3 separate regions of the Homo sapiens genome follow, and regions 1 and 3 are each linked to region 2. The links are contacts of gene promoters, found by promoter capture Hi-C in blood cells and fetal thymus (Javierre and others, 2016). All regions are on one chromosome and are shown on one strand. The core of a region is centred on a gene start or on the middle of the fragment in contact, and the rest is flanking DNA. Distances in the headings are between cores, read along the strand shown. Region 1 overlaps MIR217HG (MIR217 host gene). Region 2 holds the start of PNPT1 (polyribonucleotide nucleotidyltransferase 1). Region 3 overlaps MIR217HG (MIR217 host gene).

Region 1 (4,218 bases), core at 1,602-4,101, 270 kb after region 2:
AGTAGAGAAATAATCTTAAATTTGGCAACACTAATTGTTTTGGATGTGAGAAAACTTAAGCTATACATTATTAAAATGAAAGTTGATTTATGTTATTAGTTATACATATATACACATGTGTGCTATGATTAGGTTACAGGAGCTTGACAAAATTGATTATTCTAGATTACAAGAAGTTCTGGGAGGACCTCTTGATGACACAGATTTTTTTTCCCTGTTGCCTTGGTATTTTCGGAATATCTTACACATCATCTACTATATGTGGCTTTGTTGTAAGTTAGAGTTTGGTTAGATAGAACATTTGAACTCGATTCAACTTGGCAATGTGAAGAGCCTGGAGTCCAGTGATTCGTCTTAGGGAGGTGTTTGGGGAATAACAAAATATTTCAGAATCATTAAGGGTATTCCAACAGGGAATTTGGGAGTGGTTGAGATGCTTTGTGTGCTTCTAAGAAGGCAGGATGGGAGAGATTAGAAGAGGAAAATGGTTTTAAAATTTCACTCACAGATTTGTAAATATAGTCAGCATTGCTGCAGGTCCATAACACAATAAAATGATTACAAATTGGTAAAAAGATGATGGCTCTTTCTGGTCTCAGTTTAATGAAACTGAGATGTTAAAACAAAAAACAATTTACATGTTACAAAGGTAAGGTTATTAATGTGTGATATTAGAGCTCTTCCCTGGCCAAAACTCTGAAGACTTTTAGATGAAGCCTTTTAAATAAGTTTGTGATACCATTTTGATACAAATGGCGACACCACAGATCACTTCTTTATACAGATTTTCATGTAGAGATGCTCTGAGGAAGGTGCTGTGAAGTTTTGGAAAGAATAAAGACCTGGGTTCAGAATATGCTGGGTCAGTAATTTGCTGGCTGTGTGGTTGTAGGTAAGTTCTTTAGCCCCAGAATCCACACTTAATAAATTGAAGTGATTCTTCTTCTCTCATAGGCTTGTTCAGAAAAGGCTCCATGTTTTCTTCTTGCCACATCTTTCAGGTTTCTAGGAGAGTTTTGCTACATACCTGTTTTCCAAGATCATGTCAATCATTAAGGCCTAAAGAGCTAAAAAAAAAAAAGAGAGAGAAAAAAATATTGTTTGGGTTAAGTAGTACATGAAAATTTAAACTCCCTCTTTTAGCTATGCCAAAGAGGAACACATTTAACATTGAAGGCAAAAGAGTCTTTGCTCCATGGACTGTAAGGAAACTTGCATTTTCAGGTTTTTATTTAGGTGTGGAGATATGGAAAAGAGCAGGAGTTTACAATTTCTGCACATAGGGCTCAAAGGCTTATCCAGGCATTTTCTGCGTGGTTGTGTTTGAACCTGGTTGTTGATTGCTTTTCACGCAGACCTCTTTCCTACGTTCATTTTTTTCCTTCATTTAATTCAAACATTTTAACCATTGGGTGCACGTTATTGAACACGATTCTTGTGTCTTTACGGTTTAGCATCATTACCTAATTCTGGACGACAAGCTCAAATGTATGTGCAGGTCAAAAGTGAAGCCGGCCCTGTAATACGACTGTGAGTACTGGAGACTGGTGAACTGGGGACCTCAGTCCAGACAGCAGCCACCAGTCAAAGGCTTGTTGCCACATCAGTATGTGAGCTGCCTAGTGCCAGATCTTCCAACTTTTTTGAGAGCAGTCAGAAATATAGACTTGATTTTTAAAACACTGTGCAAATCAAACAGAGCTCATTGTCTGAGGACTGCTTGTTTTGTGTACTTGAGTTCCAGATACAGTTAGCACCTCTCTCACTATCTGTTTCCTAATAATGTGATAGTTAAGAGCTAGATAAACTGGGATCAAATCATAGCCGCATCACATACATTCTAACTGTGTGACTTCAGAAAGTTACCTGCTATCTCATTTATGAAGTAGAGATGATAATAGCTCTTATCTTATTGGGTTTTAGGGAAGACTTATATGAGCTGAAATACAGATGTGCTTAGAATAGTGCCTGGGATGTAGTAGGTGCTACTGAAGTGTTTAATATTGTTAGAGTCTCTTTTATATCATCTCACTAAGAGGCCACACTCCTCTTCTTGTGAGGTCTGGGAAGAGAGAAGGAAGAAGAAGGGAAACTACCCTTTATTGAGTATCTCCTGTTTGCCAGGAATTATGCCATGTGCTTTGTATAACATTTCCTCATTTAATCCTCATGTAGAGTCTTGAGTTAGATGTCATTTGCATTTTATAGTAGAGAGAACTGAGGCTCAATGAGATTCAGTGACTTGTCCAAGGCAGAAAAGGGATTTAGACTTAAGTAGATCTGATTCCAAACAGATCATTTTACTAGAAAGCTTACCACTCTTGATCCAGGGAGAGCTGTGAATTTGATGTTTGCTAGGAAATTGCCTTCTAAATGAATCCACTTGGTGTTATGAGAAAAACTTAGGACTGTAATGTTTCCTCCCCACCACCCACCCCCCAAACTGGGAAGGTATCAGGAGACCAAAATGTTTTGGACAAGTCCAGCTTGGTGAGTAGATGGGTTTATTAAGACTTACTTACAGAGCACTCCTGGGCAGCAGCAGGACAGCTCTAGAGATTCATCCCACTTCCCATCTCTCATTTAAGCTAATTATTTGGCTCTTTGCCTACTGTGCCTGTGTGATGGGACTGTTTTCCTTGGTATGTTTGTGTTCTCAGAGACACCTGCTCCTCGGCTGGGCACGACAGCCTTAGCTCACCACCTGGCCTTTAAGGTTCAGGCAGTGGACATATACCCTTAAGTAACCTGGTAGGGGACCCATCACACTACACTTGGAGCCAGATTAACTAGGGAGAGCTTTGCTCCTCATTAACCTACTGTCCCTGCTGGGCAAGCATCAGCTCCCTGAGGGGAGGGATAGGGTCCTTTTCTATCTGAAGCTCCCAACATATTCAGTGAACTCAAATGCTACAAAGATATGAAAGAGGGACTCAAAGTAGGCTCTCACAGTTTTGGAGAGTCTGGACATAGCATGCAATGATAGGTCTGGCCAGGCCAAGTATTAGCCTTTAATTCCTGCACTAAAAGCCCCTCAAATATTACAACACTTGTGCCTCCCTTTATAACAGTGTTCTTTATGGTATCAATTAATACAATCAGAGTAGATGGGAGGTGTGAAGGTGTGTGTGAAGGGAAGGAGGAAGGGAGCCAGAAAAGAAAGAAAGTGGGAAGCGTGTCTGTAGAGATAAGGAGAGCAGGGCTGTGAAAGGCAAAAGTCATTGGACAAACTTCCTGTCAGCTCCACAAAGTAATTTCAGCTTAGATGAACTTCCCAAATCAGGACAGAATCAAGAAGCACACGCAACAGTTTCCTTGGAAAGCCCTTTTCACCTCATTGGGCTCTGCTGAAAACAGCTTTTGTTTTTGGTAGGTGGAATAAAAGAGTATGAGAAGCTTACTCAGAATATCTATCTGCTGTTATAAATCACACAAAGTTTTTCCCAGTTAGGGCTTAAGTCACATCCATCTACAACTCTGAAGCAGAAAAACATGTGAGTCTTTCTGCTGGCCGGTGAAATGTTTTCAAAGGATTTTAATTCTTCTCCCATCTGAGAAGTTTGAACACACAACTTTCTAGTTTTTGCTTCATTGACTCAAATGTGTTGGGAGTCAGTGGAATTACCAGTCATGAACTAAATGATTAATAGGTCTGTTTTTAAGAATCAAGTGGAAAACAAATAGAGAAACGAGAACTACAGTTCCCACTCTGTCACTTTATCACTTTGCTCTCTGTCTCCCAGGAGACTGAGGGACAGTCAAGGCCACTGAGTCACCACCTTGCTGTTCCCTTTCAGTCTCTCCAGATGGAGTGCCAAGGCTGCAAAGGCTGCGCCGCCCCATCCCGGGGGTCAGGCAGGCTCACAGATGGACCTTTGGAAGTAATCCAGATGCAGAGCAACACTGAGCCCATCCATCCAGAGCCAAGTGTCAGTGTCTGAATCAATGTTCAGCAAGAGCTCTTTAATAAGCTTAATATCTAGAGTCCTGTACTTCCTGGCTGAAGGAGCTCTGGCAAGTTACTTACCCTCCCTGATTCTCATTTTCCTCATCTGTGAAATGGGAATAATCCCAAAAGCTACCTCACATGTGTGTGATGATTAAATGAGTTTTACCACGTGTAAAAAGGCTTTGTGCACATGTTCATTAATACTGTAAATATTAGTATAATGTTTTAGAGGTTTATTGATCACAAGAGCAGGTGACTATATTTGCACT
Region 2 (3,909 bases), core at 889-3,388:
GAATGGAAGAGATGTCCACTTCCCTCAAAAATCAGAATTAATGAATGCTGGGAGTGGAATAAGCCTTAGAGATAACCTAGTCTAGGGGTGACCAAACTACAGCTTGTGGCCTATTTCTATATTACTCTTCAATTAAAAATGTTTATATATATATATATATATATATATATATATTTTTTTTTTTTTTTTTTTTTTTTGAGACAAAAGTTTCACTCTTATCACCCAGGCTGGAGTGCAATGGCACGATCTCTGCCACTGCAACCTCTGCCTCCTGGGTTCAACCGATTCTCCTGCCTCAGCCTCCCAGGTAAATGGAATTACAGGTGCTTGCCACCACGCCCAGCTAATTTTGTATTTTTAGTAAAGACGGGGTTTCACCATTGTAGCCAGGCTGGTCTCGAACTCCTGACCTCAGGAGATCCACCCACCTCAGCCTCCCAAAGTGCTCGGATTACAGGTGTTAGCCACTGTGCTCGGCCGTTTTTTAAAATATTTCTAAAGGGTTTGTAAACACATACACACAGTGTGTACCCCAAAAAGCCTAATATATATATTATCTGGTCCTTTATAGAAAAGTTTGCAGACCCTTGATGGAATCCACTCTCCACACTTTGCACAAGAAAATGGTGAATTAACCTGTTCAATGTCAACTACTTATCAAAGTTAGAGTGCGAGACCTGGATTCAAAATGATTTTTTTGCTTTTTGTATGAACTGGGGTCCAAATTTTTTCAAAGTACACGTAAAAAATTTAGATATATGAAGTTTGCATTAGCAATTCCATTTATTCTAAGAACGATTAAAGCAAACTTTTTTTTTAAAAAGCGGTCCCCTAAAAAAAAGTATGGGCTTTGTAAGCAAAAAACAGAAATTCAAAAACCACCTAGTCCCATAATACTAACTTTTTTATAGACTCTTAGAAAGTTATCTAACCTTTTTTGAGCCTCTGTAGTCTTAACTATAAAATGAGGGTAATAGTACCTTTACGACAGGTTTAAAAAGATTGCGAGGATCATATAACTGGCGTTCAAAAAACTGACTTTTCCTTTTCCTCCTAACCCAGGGTCATAGTGGTCACACTTTAGGCAATCAATTAGATTGGATGACATGATATCTTGTACTCCTAACTTCAAGTCATCCTTCCGTCTTAGCCTCCCAAAGTGCTGGGATTACAGGTGTGAGCGCCTGACCTTTTGCCATCTCTTTGCATCGATCTTTGCTTTTGTTTCTCTCTGTGTGTCTCCTTGCCTCTCTCCCTGTCACTGTCTCTCTCTCTCCCCTGCCTCCCTCTTGGTCTCTTTTTTTTGCTGTCTCTTTCTGATGACCTTGTTCCCATCTCTGTGCGTGTGTGGCTCTCTCCCTGTCCATCTCTTACCATCTCTGCCTTCCTCTCCCAGGTCTTAAACGAATATTTCCACAATGTCTGTGAACTGGACCTGGTGTTCAACTTCTACAAGGTAGGCTCCTGGTGAAGAGGAGGCTGAAGGAGCCCGAGGAGTGGGACGTGGGGGACCCGTGGTGCACTAGCCACCCGGAGCCTCTGCTGAGGTCTGTGTCCCAGCTCGAGGGGCATCAGAGCCCCAGCTTCCAGGGTCCGGGCCAGCATCCCGGGGGGCCTCGTCTCACCCACGTCAACTCGTTATTCCTAGGTGGAATGTTTCCCACTTAAGAGCCCAGTGGTCCCGGAAAGTAAAGAGATCGGAAGTCAGGTGGACGGACAGAGTCGGATGGAGCAAAGAAGCCCGGCACACACCAACAGAGAGAACGACATAGCGCGGGAAGGAGGGTCCGAGGAGACACATTCCAAACCCGGAAAGGGAAATTTGGAATTTAGGTTTAGGGTAAGGAGAGATTAAATAGAGCTGGGATACCGGGTTTCTACCCTGGGAGATGAATACGCTCAAGCTGGCTGGACAAGACACCTTATGACAATACAGTGAACGCACGTCACTCCTTACCTGTTGCCTAAGTCCACGGCCACAGCTCGAGACCCTGCGCTACTCCATAGTGCTCGCACTTGCAACTGGGTGAGTGCCCGATCCCGCCGTGGCAGAAGGAAAGGACCATCGCTCAGGGGCCGGAGCCGGAGGCACGAGCAGCAGTACCTGCAGGCCGCCATGACACCCGGCACGCGGTCAACGCAGGCTGTGCCCTGATTGGCTCACTCCGCAGACCGTGGGGCGGAGCCTGATGGAGTTTCGTTTCCGCGGTGCCCGAGGGACGCCGGGGTAACGGAAACCTTGGCCACCTTCTACGAAGACTAGAGAGGGTCAAACCTATCAGAACGCGATTATGTTGCAAACGATCTTTGTCTTTATGTGCCAACGAAAGGCAATTAGATAAATAAGGTTTTTGTGTGTGTACTATCGTAATTTAAAGGAGAAGTCCTAGAATAATGTAAATGTTTAATATGCAGAGTAAATTTATATTTACTTTTAATACTAGAAGTCATAGAACAACACATTATTATTATTTGGATCTGTGAACTAAGAATTAGAATTTGGGTGGTGGGCCTTGGAAAGAGATCTCCTTCTCCCCTTCTCCGCCCTGGTTTTTATTTTAAAAATTTCACATAGCAGATATGTTACTACAGCGATTTGTGTTAACCAATTTACAGTAAATTCATTTTTCATCGACTTGTAATTTTAGAAATCTTTATTGTCACTTCTGATTCATTTTCATTTCCATTGCTAATAATTAGCAATTTATATTTCTGTCCCTTTTGGTCGAACTCTTAAATGCAAAATGCCAGCTACTGTTTGAAGTAAATATTTTGTAAAATGAAAAAAAAAAGTTTTTGGGATTTGAAAAATTTTTAGAGAATGGATAAATTTCTTCCACCCCATTAATCCATTCTGTTAGAAATTCTTTATGTTTTTCCTTGAATGAACCAATGGGCATTTTCATATTATGATGTAAATTTTTTGTGTAAGGTGATAACCGCCTTACCCCAAAGAAAACCAAACAACAAAAACCCAACACTCATTCAAACACAGTTTTAAGAATTAAAAACGTTGGCTGGACGCTGTGGCTCACGCCTGTAATCCCAGCACTTTGGGAGGCCGAGGCGGGCGGATCACCTGAGTTCGAGACCAGCCTGACCAACACAGAGAAACCCCGTCTCTACTAAAAATACAAAACTAGCCGGGCATGGTGGCTTATGCCTGTAATCCCAGCTACTCGGGAGGCTGAGGCAGGGGAATCGCTTGAACCCGGGAGGCGGAGGTTGCAGTGAGCCGAGATCGCGTCATTGCAACAAGAGTGAAACTCGGTCTCAAAAAAAAAAAAAAAAAAAAAAAAAAAAAAAGTCCGGGCGCAGTGGCTCATGCCTGTAATCCCAGCACGCTGGGAGGCAGAGGCGGGTGGATCACGAGGTCAAGAGACCCAGGGCATCCTGGCCAACATGCTGAAACCGCGTCTCTACTAAAAATACAAAAATTAGCTCGGTGTGGTGGCGCGTGCCTGTAATCCCAGCTACTCCAGAGGCTGAGGCATGAGAATCGCTTGAATCCAGGAGGCGGAGGTTGCAGTGAGCCGAGATCGCGCCACTGCACTCCAGACCGAGACTCCATCTAAAAAAAAAAAAAAAAAAAAAAAAAATTAAAAATGTTGATCCGTGATGATTTAAAAAAGAAAAAAGAATGATGAGCTCTAAACAGACAAATGATTTGCTGGCAAAGCAGTTTTCTGACACCTTGCTTTCATGAGCTATTATTACTGATTTGGGATTTCCATTCCAATAGAGGGATTACCATTAACTTTGTTTACAGATTTTTAGTGTTAAAGCAGTTTTTGCGTCTCCTCCCTTTTACTTTACCTTGAGTTGCCACAGAGTTTTCCAGACCAATCTATTGAAATCTCTCATGAAGATAAATCTCTCAGAAAACCTACTTGCCACAATTGAACATGA
Region 3 (4,048 bases), core at 41-2,540, 310 kb after region 2:
ATAATTTGCCTGTTGTAAAGATCAGGAAAATCAGAGAGGCTTAATTTAAGTAGGGGAATCAGATACTGAAAACCTACATTTCCTCAGTAGACACTGGGGACCCCAAAAGGAGTGGGGAGGCAAGAGTTGAAAAACTACCTATTGGGTACTATGTTCACTATTTGGGTGATAGGGTCAACAGAAGCCCCAAACCTCAGCATTACACAATATATCCATGTAACAAACCTGGACATGTACCGCTGAATCTAAAATAATTTTTTAAAAAAGTAATAACAATCAAAAAGTAAACATGCATTTATCATATGACCCAACAATCACATCTCTTGACATTTATCCCAGAAAAATGAAAATTTATGCTCACACAATAATCTTAGACTATATTGTTTGTAGTAGTTTTGTTTGTAATACCAAGACACAGACACAAACTAAGTGTCCTTCAATGGGTGAATCATTAAACAAACTATGCTGCATCCATATCATGAAATACTACTCAACAGTAAAAAGGAACAAACTATTGATACATGCAACAGCTTGGATGGATGTCAAAAGAATTAAGCTGAGTAAAAAAATTCAATCTCAAAAGGTTACCTACTATATGATTAAATTTATAAACATTCTAAAAATGACAAAATTATAGAGATAGTAAACAGATTAGTGGTTGCCAGGAGTTAGGGATGGGGCATCAAGAGGGTAAAGAGATAGGTGTAACTAGAGAGGGGTAACACCGGGATATTTGTGGTGATGAAATAATTGTGTATCTTGACTATGGCAGTTGTTACACAAATCTACATGTGGCAAGTTGCACAGAACTATACACATGTACACACATGAGTGCTTGTACACTGGTGAAATCTGAATAAGATCTATGGGTTGTATAAATGTCAATTTCCTGGTTTAGATATTTTACTATAGTTATGTAAGATGTTCCGTTGGGGGAAATTGAGTGAAGGTACATAGAACCCCTGTATTATTATTTTTTAACTGCTTGTAAGTCTATACATTTTTCAAAATAAAAATTTGAAAAAACAAAAACAAACAACATAAAACCTAAGTTTCCTGACTTGTAGTTCCATGCTTGTTCCTCTGTGCTATTTTGTCTGAGATGTAGAATTATGCACATTTAGGTAATTTATTTCCTTCCAATTTATGTCTTTTTGAACTTCAATTTCTTTGTTAGGAGAAAAAAAGGACTATAAAATAGGAGTGCCAATAATACCTTCTTCACTGGGTTTGTGAGAAAACTAAGTTAAATAATATGTGTAGAGTGCTTCATGCAATAGTGACTATTGGTCGTTGTTATCAAATACTTAAAACACTCCTACTGCCTGGGAGGATGCTAAATTCCTAGCAATGTTTTTATTGTTTCCTTTAATGAAACCTCATGTTTTGAAATATTTTGTGTAACAAATTGCATATATGGTTAATAATTTTTTTCTTTTGTTACTATCAAAGGCATTTTAGACTGTTAGTTGGAGCTTCTGATTAGCAATTGCATCAATATTGAGTTGAATTAAATCCAATGAAAGCAAAGAAACCTGATATTTGGAGAGCCTTCTTATCCTCATCTAAGGAAATGTATTTCTTTCAGGTCACCTGAAGTGGTGAAGTGTCTAAAACATCTTGTTGATCTCCAGCACTGAGTTTACAGACTCTAGACATAGTTGGGCTCCACTTTTCAATGAACAAGCCAAACCTTATTATTATAATCTGAGTGAGTTGACATTTTGTGTGTGATCTAATTCAATTTTTGAATGTTACAATTTTTTCCATCACATCATGGGAAATTGGTGTGGTCCAGAAATAATCCAAATGAATTCACTAAGAATGAAACTGAAGATGAATTTTTAACATGCTACCAGAAGTTATTGATTAACAGGCATACCAATGTTTCAGATACTAACAGATACATAACATTATTATAAATATATAAAAATCAAATTATGGCTTTTATTCATTGTCATTGAAGACCAATTTCAATAATAATTTTTAATACTTTTTATTTTTTGTTTTACCTTTTAGTCATGACATTTTTATTATATTAGAGGAGAAGGGAAAATAATTTTTTTAGTATATAGAAATTGGATTGCTTACAGACAAATTAAACTTAGGAGGGAAAATTATAAAGGATGTTGAAAACTATAAATTTAAACAAACATCTCTTATTTTGACAGGATATGTTTCAGAGAGAACAAATCTTGAGTCTTTCAAATATTACTGGGCCAGACTAAAATAATTTCATTGTGAGAGCATTTTCCTTCTCTGTGTGCAGTCTAAGTGCATATTTTGTGCTCTTAGGAATAACTTTCCAAAGCTGTGCGAAGAATGTAGCAATAAAATCTAATAAGAATTATGGCTCATGACTTGAATGATGTCAGTACCCTTTTAATCCTCCCAAACATGAAAACGTTTTCTCCTCTTAAATAAGATTTCTTAACTCCTTATTTCTAAGGAAATAAGTACATCTGAGCAATTCTATTGGCAAAGTAAGAGTTAAATGAAAATGTTTCTTTCCATTATTATTAATGCTTATACTTATTAAGACCACTACTTTAGAAATGTATTCTAGACAATATTTTTATGAATACATATTATTTTGTCTGATTATTTTAGTGTTCCAGTTATAATCTTTTGCTCTCTCTAAGCCAGTGGTTCTCAAACTTGAGCATGAATCGGAATTACCTGGAAAGCTTGTTGAAACACAGATTGCAGGGCCCATTCTGAGTTTCTGATTCAGGAGGCCTCTAGTGGGGTGCAAGAATTTGCATTTCTAACAGGTTCCTAGGTGACGCTGCTGATGCTAGTCTGGGAATCAAACTTTGACAACAACTGCTTTAAGCCATGTTACAAACAACCTTCTTATTTTAAAATTTAATTTAGTGGGATTCAACCATCACGAGGCATGTAGTCACCTTGGTTTAGAAGAAGTTAAAGTTCAGTAAGTGGGCTATAGCTTGGCTTTTTGGCCATGCTAGATTTATTCCAGGCCAAAGAACTGCTTATAACAAAAGCATAGTTGATGAAATGGTTCGATGCTTGAAGATGTCAGACTGTAGAATCTCTACGGGTAAGTGTGTGATTTCCTCAGTGACATCACATTTGCCTGCAGAGATTTTCCAGTCTGCCACTTTGAAGTTGTACTTAAGATAGAAAAAAGTTGTCGTCATTCTACAGTGATCTTTCTGGTCTTGCTAAATTTTAAAACTATATTTATTCAAGATTAAAATTGATGGGAAGTAGGAGTTATAGCTGGGATTCAGATAGGTGCATAAATGAGAATGGATACTCTCTAATTTTGCCACACATCTCCATAGAGAATGAAGGAAAAGATGAAAAGTGAAGTTTCCCAAGCCACAACCAGTGGATGAGACTAGTATACCTTGGTCATGGAAGAAAGACGAGGCTTCTTATGCCATCATTCATTTTTTTTTCTCAAATTATGCTGTTTGTTTCATATGTGCTTATTTTACCAGTGTGTTAGTCACACCAAAAGCCTTATGGTCAATCCAGGTAAATATCCTTGCATTTCAAGCAATTTTATCTAACGTTAGACTTTGCAGTTGAGTTTCTTAGTCTTTTGTAATTTAGTTATGCCTAAGTAATAACAAGATTAGATGAGTAGAATGAGGAGATGTGCTTTTTACTTTTATTCTCTCCATCTTTCTTCTGCCTAATAATGGTCTTATGATAATACCATCACCTGCTGCTAATCTTTAAAGTGCTGGAATAATGCATGATATGCAATATTTACTTTAGAGCTCAAAAATCTAACTTGTGAATATTGTGATATTATTAACACTACAATGTCGGGTTTTGGGTCAATGTCAACTATAAATTTATTCCAACATTTTCCTAGAACAGGGACTTCATATATTTTGTTCTCTTCTATATCCCAGCACATGGAATAATTCCTGGCCTATAGGAGGTGCTCAGTAAACATTTATTAATGATTGGCTATTACTTAGGATGTTTTTTGCAAATACTTGTTTACCATTAGAAAGGAAATATATATATATATATTCACATATTTTATTGATATTACAGTGACATT

The links. The method cuts DNA at HindIII sites, captures the fragments that hold promoters and counts their contacts. A CHiCAGO score of 5 or more calls a contact.
Region 1: a contact is called between a fragment that was not itself captured here and the fragment with the promoter of PNPT1 in region 2, in 1 of 17 cell types (megakaryocytes). The highest score is 5.9, in megakaryocytes.
Region 3: a contact is called between a fragment that was not itself captured here and the fragment with the promoter of PNPT1 in region 2, in 1 of 17 cell types (endothelial precursors). The highest score is 5.0, in endothelial precursors.

The regions. Positions count from the first base shown.
Region 1 is chr2:55,962,816-55,967,033 of GRCh38, forward strand. It overlaps MIR217HG (MIR217 host gene), which reads right to left. Exons shown (of 3, transcript NR_126406.1): 3 at 591-1,067. The region is part of intron 3 of LOC105374690 (a long non-coding RNA gene); the gene reads left to right. Among named protein-coding and RNA genes, the nearest start is that of MIR217, 18 kb to the right of the region's middle. The HindIII fragment of the contact is 1,085 bases long and covers 2,310-3,394 here.
Region 2 is chr2:55,691,706-55,695,614 of GRCh38, forward strand. It overlaps PNPT1 (polyribonucleotide nucleotidyltransferase 1), which reads right to left and starts at 2,139. Exons shown (of 28, transcript NM_033109.5): 1 at 1,958-2,139. The coding sequence starts at 2,118. RefSeq lists a silencer at 1,329-1,388 and enhancers at 1,959-2,078, 2,089-2,148, 2,179-2,328. The HindIII fragment of the contact is 6,564 bases long and covers 1-3,909 here.
Region 3 is chr2:55,997,674-56,001,721 of GRCh38, forward strand. The region is part of intron 2 of MIR217HG (MIR217 host gene); the gene reads right to left. The region is part of intron 3 of LOC105374690 (a long non-coding RNA gene); the gene reads left to right. It overlaps MIR216B (microRNA 216b), which reads right to left and starts at 3,122; the gene lies at 3,041-3,122. The HindIII fragment of the contact is 2,789 bases long and covers 1-2,685 here.